Linked DNA regions of Homo sapiens: region 1 is linked to region 2. Evidence: promoter capture Hi-C in human tissues and cell types (Jung and others, 2019). All regions are on one chromosome and are shown on one strand. Each heading gives the region's core, a stretch centred on a gene start or on the middle of the fragment in contact. The rest is flanking DNA. Distances are from core to core; before and after follow the strand shown.

The links. Contacts are between HindIII fragments. The study calls those that stand out against the background at their distance.
Region 1: a fragment that was not itself captured here is called in contact with the fragment with the promoter of PARD6G in region 2 in 2 of the 25 tissues and cell types used here (dorsolateral prefrontal cortex and pancreas).

What each region holds. Positions count from the first base shown.
Region 1 is chr18:80,209,287-80,213,232 of GRCh38, forward strand. All of the region lies in intron 1 of PARD6G (par-6 family cell polarity regulator gamma), which reads right to left. Among named protein-coding and RNA genes, the nearest start is that of PARD6G, 36 kb to the right of the region's middle. The HindIII fragment of the contact is 5,128 bases long and covers 1-3,946 here.
Region 2 is chr18:80,245,841-80,250,376 of GRCh38, forward strand. It overlaps PARD6G (par-6 family cell polarity regulator gamma), which reads right to left and starts at 1,674. Exons shown (of 3, transcript NM_032510.4): 1 at 1,437-1,674. The coding sequence starts at 1,508. RefSeq lists enhancers at 1-313, 314-813 and a silencer at 1,840-1,899. The HindIII fragment of the contact is 11,759 bases long and covers 1-3,773 here.

The DNA.
Region 1 (3,946 bases), core at 291-2,790, 37 kb before region 2:
AGATTATTTGTTATTGGGAAATACACAGGTGTGCAAATTCTTATTCTTCAATGCTTCTAGCTAAATGAACCCTCATTCATTATTTAGATAATGATTATTCTATTTTGTAGTTGACCCCAACTATTATTCCTACAACAGGATAGTAAAAAACGGGGTTGGGGGAGATTTCATCTTTTAAAATTATTAAAAATTATCTCAAATACAAAATACCAAGATCAATAAGCAAAAGCGTATCAGCATCTGGCTAGGTGTGGTGGCTCACACCTGTAATCCCAGGACTTTGGGAGGCCAAGGCAGGTGGATCGTTTGACTCTAGGAGTTTGATACCAGCCTGGGCAACATGGGGAAACCATGTCTCTACAGAAAAGTACAAAAATTAGCCAGGCGTGGTGGCACACGCCTGTAGTCTCAATCACTTGGCAGGCAGAGGCAGGAGGATCGTTTGAACCTGGGATGTGGAGTCTGCAGTGAAGTGAGACTGCACCATTGCACTCCAGCCTAGATGACAGAGTAAGACCCTGTCTCAAAAAATACAAAGTGTATCAAAAGCTTCTAAATGCAAATCATTTTTATTTTCTTTAAAATGTATTCAATGATAACATCATTATACTATAAATAGAAAATAAGAAATGTCCATCTATCACCTATATCATATCAATCTCTATTAATCATATCTATCTATTCCCCCAACTCTAACTTCTTATCATAATTTTGACCCTTTTCCTTCCAGAAGAAGGGATAGAGCTCGAGAAGTGCTTGTTGAATGAATAATACCTTGGAGCCAGTTGCGATAAAAGTAATGTTCCATACAGCTCTTGGTCAATAAGCAAGGAGACAAAAAGATGATGGAAACCCAAGACAGCTAGGAGCCTGGGAAGCACGACAGGAAAGATGACAGGACAGTGCTGTTTTAAGTTAATCTCCAAGCACTTCCAGAATGGAAGACTAGGACCTGCAAATCTCTGCTTATCCATTAAAGACAGAATACTGGGAAAAACTGTCAAAACCAACTTTTAGAGAACCGTGGAAATTAATCAATGGCTTGCAACAATGCAAGGAGTGTTTATTCTAGAAAAGCAGCTGAATCTCAGTAAGAGCAGCAAGCTTTGCGGTGCTTTCACTTCCTATCCACCTCTCAACTGTGAAATCCAGCAGCCTCACAGCCTGGGAGGGAGCAGAACCAGTCTGGAAGTTCCCCAAAGCCCACACTCAGGACTGTCATCGTCAGACCTGTCTTGCAGCTCCAGGAAAAGCCCTTCTCATAGGGTCAAGTTCAGTGGGAAAAGCCTTGTCCCCAGGGCATTTGCTGAACACAATCAGCATCAGCTGTTTAACATTTAAAGCTAATATGATCAAAGTTTAAAAAAAAGTTTTTTTCCATGGGCCAAGTTTATTTTGTTAGTAGGACCAAAATAGGTTATCTACAAAGGGAACGACTAATTATAAACAAATAATTATTGCATACTCCCTGCCAATTTTACATCTCTTGCCAGATACAAAGCATTTACTTTAATGAACTTACAACGAGTTACTTGCCTAAAACCACGGAAAGTGGGGATATTTTCAAAGCAGCTGCTTATGTGATATGACTGGCAAAACCTCCCCACCCCCCATCCCCAAACACACGTCACTAGTCATTCCTTTGAGTCAATACATTGAAGGCCTCTGTTAAAATATGATCTGCTGACAGACAAATGGAACTATTCACATTTAGTTCAAACTAGTTGATTGAGTTTCTTAGTCACTTAGTAAAAGGTCCTTTGTGAAAGGGACCCAGTAGCATTTTTTTCTTTTTTTTTGAAAAGCCATCTGTATTTTTAGGTTTGCTTTTAAGTGAAAATTTTACAACATGCTTGAAATTAGATCCTCTGCAGCTATTTATATTTCTTATGATAAAAATTAGATGCCAATTTAAAAATATATTATCTCCTTTACACTTGTTCTTAAAATTCTTTTAGAGGATATGTGATACTTGAAGATTGCTGCACTATGGTATAGAGATCACTGTGAAAGTGCCTGAGGAATAGTTACCATTGGGGCAAACAGGAATTGGACAAACACATTTAAAAGACAATGCTGGGACGCATACCCATTAGGATGGCTACTATCGAAAAAGCAAAATAGTAAGTGTTGGCAAAGATGTGGAGAAATTGGAATCCTTGTGCACGACTGGTGATAACGTAAAGCAGTGCAGCTGCTGTGAAAAACAATATGGCAGTTCCTTAAAAACATTACAAATAGAATTACCATATGATCCAGCATTCTACCTCTGGGTATATAACTAAAATAACCGAAGGTGGAATCTGGAGGAGATATTTGTATATCCATGTCCATAGCAGCATCATTCACAATAGCTAGAATGTAAAAACCTAAGTATCCATCAATGGATGAATAGGCAAAAGGTGACACATACATACAATGGAATATTATTCCATCTTCAAAAGGAAGGAAATTCTGATGTGCTACAACATGGACGAACCTTGAGGACATTATGCTGAGTGAAATAAGCTGGTCAGAGAAGGACAATACTGTATGATTCCACTTATATGAGGTAAATAGAGTACTCGAAATTTTATCACAGAGACAGAAAGTAGTATGGTTGGTGCCAGGGCCTTGAGGGAGGAGGAATGAGGAGTTTGAATGCAGAGTTTGAGTTTTACAAGATGAAAAGAGTTCTGGAAATGGGTGATGGCTGCGTAACAATATGAATATACAGCAGGTCCTCAAATAATGTTTCATTCAATGTTATTTCACTACAATACTGATAAAAAAAAATCGATTCCCAGCCAGGGCCACACTGTCTGTGTGGAGTCTGCATGTTCTCCTCACATTTACATATTCTCCAGTTACTCCAGTTTCCTCCCACGTCCCAAAGATGTGCACATTAGGTTAACTGATGAGTCTAAATTGTCCAAGTCCTTGTGGGTGTGTATGTGAGTGTAACCTGTGATGGAATGGTGTCCTGCCCATGGTTGGTTCCTGCCTTGTTCCCTGAGCTGCTGGGATAGGTCCTAGTCACTCATAACCATGAACTGGAATAAACAGGTTGGAAAATAAGTGAATGAATAAATACAAATTATTGTAAAATAAAAATCTGTAATCACACAAATACGTGGCAAGAAATGACTGCGATAAATGCTGCAGTATGAAAGTGCCGGCCATATTTGTTATTGTTTGCTTTTGAACTGCATGGTGGTGGGAGGTGCTCATTACAATTTTCACTTTGCAAACAGTTATTCCTTGATTTAATCCACCACCGCTACAACCGCTGTCAGTCACTGATTCACCAAAAATTGGGTAAATAATTATCTTGTTTTGGCCGGGTGTGGTGGCTCAAGCCTGTAATCCCAGCATTTTGGGAGGCCAAGGCGGGCGGATGATGAGGTCAGGAGATCGAGACTAGCCTGACCAACATGGTGAAACCCCATCTCTACTAAAAAATACAAAAATTGGCCGGGTATGGTGGCACACGCCTGTAGTCCCAGCTACTCAGGAGGCTGAGACAGGAGAATCACTTGAACCCGGGAGGCAGAGGTTGCAGTGAGCCGAGATTGTGCCACTGCACTCCAGCCTGAGCAACAGAGCGAGACCCCATCTCAAAAAAAAAAAATTATCTTGTTTTTATCAATCTTTCTTAAATGTATAGCTCACATTTATTTCAAATGTTTAATATAATAAATATTTGGGGTCTTTATTTAGAAGTTTGGTGATGTTTTTGTGACGAGAAATATGTTGCAGGAACTTAACTCTTGTTTATATCAATCAGCCCATAGTAAATTGGTTTTATTACCAGTGGTTTTGCTTAAAGTCACAGTTTCCAAGAACCTATCGATGATAAGTGAGGACTTACTGGACTTAATACTACTGAACTGTACACATAAAAATGGTTAAGATGATGAAGTTTACGTCTATTTTACCACAATTTTTAAAAACGAAAAAAAGAAAT
Region 2 (4,536 bases), core at 424-2,923:
AAGATGGGTGTGGGGCCGAGGTCATGGGGCAAGGGTAAGGACAGGATCTTATGATAAATGAGGGATTCATTAAAAGACCGTGTACCCCTAAGCAGAGAAGGATCCTGCAACTCACTGTAGCAGGCTGGAGAGGCGGCCATGCTGTTGCTGGGACACCTCCCCGCCTCAATCCTCTGCAGACACCCTGGAAATCCTACTCCAAAGGTCAGAGCAGCACAGCGAGAGGGGGCTGTTGGACTTGCCTCCCCAGAGACAGGGGAGGGAACACCCGCCCTGCGCCCAAGATAGGCACACAGTTAGGGGTGCGGGCTCCCACTCCGCCGTTAGGAGCCTTTCCCACAACTCTGAGAACCGGGGTGCGAAGAAAGAAAGGGCGAAAGGGCCGCTCAACTCCCAGAGAGTAGCCAGCGAAAGACTCGAGGGGCCCCCTCCCGCAGGACCCCGAACAACTGCAGCACCTCCTCAGCCCGCGGGGTCCACCAAGGAGACCCTCACAAACAATAGCATCTGCGGCGAAGGAACCACCCCCGCAAAGGGCAGAAGCGCCAGATCCTACCAGCCAATTACCCAGACGCGCATCGCGACCCGCAAGTTCGGGCACGCTCCGCCCGGGCGCAGGCAGCGGGAGGGGCCGGGCACGCCCGTGGGGGTGGTCTGGGTACGGGTCTGATCCGGGGGCGCGCTCGGGAGGGGTCTGGGTCTGAGCCGGGGGCGCGCCCGGGGGAGTGGGCTGGGTCTGGGGCGGGGGCGCGTCCGGAGGTGGGGGAGTCTGGGGTGGGGGCGCGCCCGTGGGGGTGGGGTGGGGTGTCTGGCCCGGGGACGCGCCCGGGGAGGCGTGGTCTGGGTCTGGGCCGGGGGAGAGCCGGGTGCGTGCTCTGGGTCTGCGCGGGGGAGCGCGCCTGGTGCCTAGATGTTTGGTACCGAGCGGGTGGGGGACGCCGGGCTCGGAGCCGGCGGCAAGTCTCCTCCTGGCAGGTAACAAGCCTCCTTTGCAGCCTTGAAGGCGCCTTGGCCAGGGCCATCCCACGGCCCGGGCCCCCAGAGCCCCCCCACGGCCCCGAATCCGAGCAGCCCCTGGCCCTCAACTCGCCCCGGAAAGGCCGCCCTCCCCTCCAATGTGTGGCGCGCCCCGATCGCCTCTCACTCGTGGAACAAAAGAGCAGCTCCCGCGGAGCGGGTCCAGAGTCTGCCCGGACTGTCCGATGGCCCTCGGCCCTCTGAGCGCCGCGGCTGCCGGGCTTTGTGTCCGCGCGGGGGGCGGGAAGGACGGCCGGGGTCCCCAGTGCGCGTCCCGCGGAGCGGCGCGCGGCGCCCGAACTGGAAAGTTGTCGCCGGCGCCTGTCGCCTCCACGCCGCCCCAGTCCCCCTCCGCGGGGCGCCCCATTCATTAGCCAGGAGACTGGGCGCAGGGCCGCCGGGGCGGGCGGGGGGCTTACCTTGCTCTTGACTTCCACTGCGCTGCAATCGTAGAATCGCAAGGTCTGAGACTTGTGAAAACTTCGGTTCATGGTTTCGGCCCCGGTCAGCCTCGCCGTCGCCCTCGCTCCTCAGGGGCCGCAGAAAGACTCCCGGGGGCGGCGCCCCCAGGCCCCGGCCCCGGCCCCGGCCCGCGCTCGCTTGGCCGGCGGGCTGCTCCCGGTGCTGCGGGCCCGAGCTGGGCTGGCCGCGCGCCTCAGGGACTCCAGGGGCCGCGCGCGGGAGGAGCGCGGGGGACGCCGGCGCGCGCCGCCCCACCTCCCGGCGCCCGCGCCCGCGCCCCGCCCCGCCCCCGAGCCCCGGAGGACCCGCCCATATCCCCGCCCACAGCCCCGCCCCGCGCTCCGGAGGACCCGCCACACCACGCCCCCACGCTGCAGCTCCGCGTCGGATCGCCAGTGGGTGCGCGCCCTCCTGTCCACAATCCCAGAGCCTGGGGAAAGGAGCATCGCGGCCAGCCCAAGGCGTCTCGTTTTGATTGCCTCCACCGAGCAACCTAGGATAGGGGTTGATTTTTGCCATTGTTTTGGGTAATATTCAAGTGAAGAATGCTAACGAGAACCACTGGAGACCTGATCCCAAAAGGCATCACCTGTCAGTACTAATTGTCAAGTTGCTGATGGCCTGGGAGAAGGGTTTTATCAAATAGGCTTAGAGCAGCCTGGCCAATACGGTGAAACACTATCTCTACTAAAAATACAAAATTAGCCGGGTGTGGTGGGGGGGGTGCCTGTAATCCCAGCTAATGGGGAGGCTGAGACAGGAGAATCGCTTGAACCCGGGAGGCGGAGGCTGCAGTGAGCCGAGATCGCATCACTGTACTCCAGCCCGGGAGGCAGAGCGAGACTCCGTCTCAAAAAATAAAAAATAAAAATAAAGGCTTAGAGGGCTTTATTAGATAGCCTATCTCTAGGGAGAGGATCAGAAGCACCTGCCTGATGCGAAAGGAGACTTTTTCTAAGGCAGCTAGAAAAAGAGAACCTGTTAAGACAAAGAATCAATTACTAGCAGCATCAATGAATATTTACCAATCAAGAGGCCTCTGAAACGGGCTTGCTGAAACCAAAGATACAATCCTTGCCCTTGAGGAATTTGTGATGAAGTTCAGAAGACAAGACAGTTTTTAAAAAATCATTTTGAAGTATACTATGAATTGTAATCTACAAGCCATATAATTATAAATCTCACCATACATTCATTGCAAAAGAAACCTGCAGAATATAAAGAAGTGAAAAAACCTGTAAAAATTACCTGTAGTCATGCTACTCAGCAATCAACTGTATTAACCTTTGGTGTATTTTATTTTCACTTATTTTTCTGCATATATATTTGTATATTTTACAAAGTTGTGACCATGCTGTTTATCTCGTTTTACAACTTGCACTTTTCACCTTGTGCTATATAATGAACTTTTTCTTCTTCTAAAAACAGGATCTTGCTATGTCGCCCATGTTGTAGTGCAATGCCATAATCACAGCTCACTGCAGCCTCAAACTCCTTGGCTCAAGCAATCCTTCCACCTCAGCCTCTTGAGGACCACAGATTTGTGCCACCACACAGACTAATTTTATTTTTATTTTTGTTTTTTGTAAAGATGGGGGTCTCTTTATGTTGTCCAGGCTTGTCTCAAACTCCTGGCCTCAAGCAATGCTTCCACCTCTGCCTCCCAGATGTGAGCCACTATACTCGGCCAGAACGGTTTTATTAAATGTTCTTAGAGAAGATGTTTTCTAAAAGGTGCTTATATGAATATAGGCATAATTTATAATCATTTCATTATTGTTGGATATTTAAGATGTTTCCACTGTTAAGCTTTTATATCACACTGTTTTAAAAATTTGCTTATATTCAATGTTTTAAATGGACTTCTAAAATTAGAACTACTAGGCCACAAACTACACACCTCTAAAGCCTTTAACACAAATTACTTTCATAGAAATCTGATTTTCCTTTATTTTTGCTAAGTATTTACCCTGTTATATGCTGGGACTTAGTGCCAGGGAGTACCATTACAAAGCCACTGAGTTATAATCACTGCCCTTTAGAGAAATGCTAGGCTGGCCAGAGGACCGGATATGTAAACAGAGTTCCAAAACAAGGCACGTGCGCAGTAAGTAAGCAAGCAAACAAAAAATGCCAAGAGACACACACTTGGCAAGCAGACTGTGGACAGAGGTGCTGCCATTCTTTCAAGGGAAATTTCCTAAACTGAATGCAAATCTTTGGATTTGAGAAAAGTCACAGGCTCAATGCTGACTGCAAGTTGCCCATTACAGTGGGCAACATTGTTTTGTGGTTAGAAGAGGCTCAGTAATATCCTGAGGGAGGAGCTCCAACTGTCACATTTTAAGAAATGCAGGGACAAAGGAGTATGTGGAGGAATGAACAGCACTGTAGGCAATGAAGGTGGGAGTGGGGTCCACCCAGTAAGCTCGGGGCTTTGGAGTGGGAAGACGCCTTTTAAAGGAAAGGCTGGAAGGCTACGGAATTTCAAGTAGCCCTAGACTTGGCTCTGGACCAGGTTGATGAGAGTGAGATCACTTTGTCAATGCCTGTGGCTCAGAGTGTGGTGTAAGGCCCAAAATCTGCTCCACCTGGCACTTGTTAGCAATACCCCACCCAGACCCACTGAATCAGAATCCGCACTTGAACAAGATCCCCAGGTGATTCATGTCCACACTGAAGTTTGAGAGGTGCTGCTCCTTTATCTTAATCATCTGTTGCTCCACAGTTCTTGATTGGCATGATCTGCAGGCAAAAGCAGGAGGAAAGGCTGGGAAAGCTTGCTGTTGCGTGTGGAGCTTGAGTTTCCAGCTGAGACTTGAACTGGATTTGCTAGGGCTTTGAGCTCTAGGTTCAGGCGGGTATAGACCAAAAAAAAATTAACTGAGCCTTCAGCTGGAAAGGCTTTTACACAGTACAGCAGCCAGATTGGAAAAAACAAAAGCCCTCTCCTACCAGACACAGTGGCTCACACCTGTAATCCCAACACACTGGGAGGCTGAGGCTGGAGGATTGCTTGAGGCCAGGAGTTTGAGACTAGCCTAGGCAACATGGTGA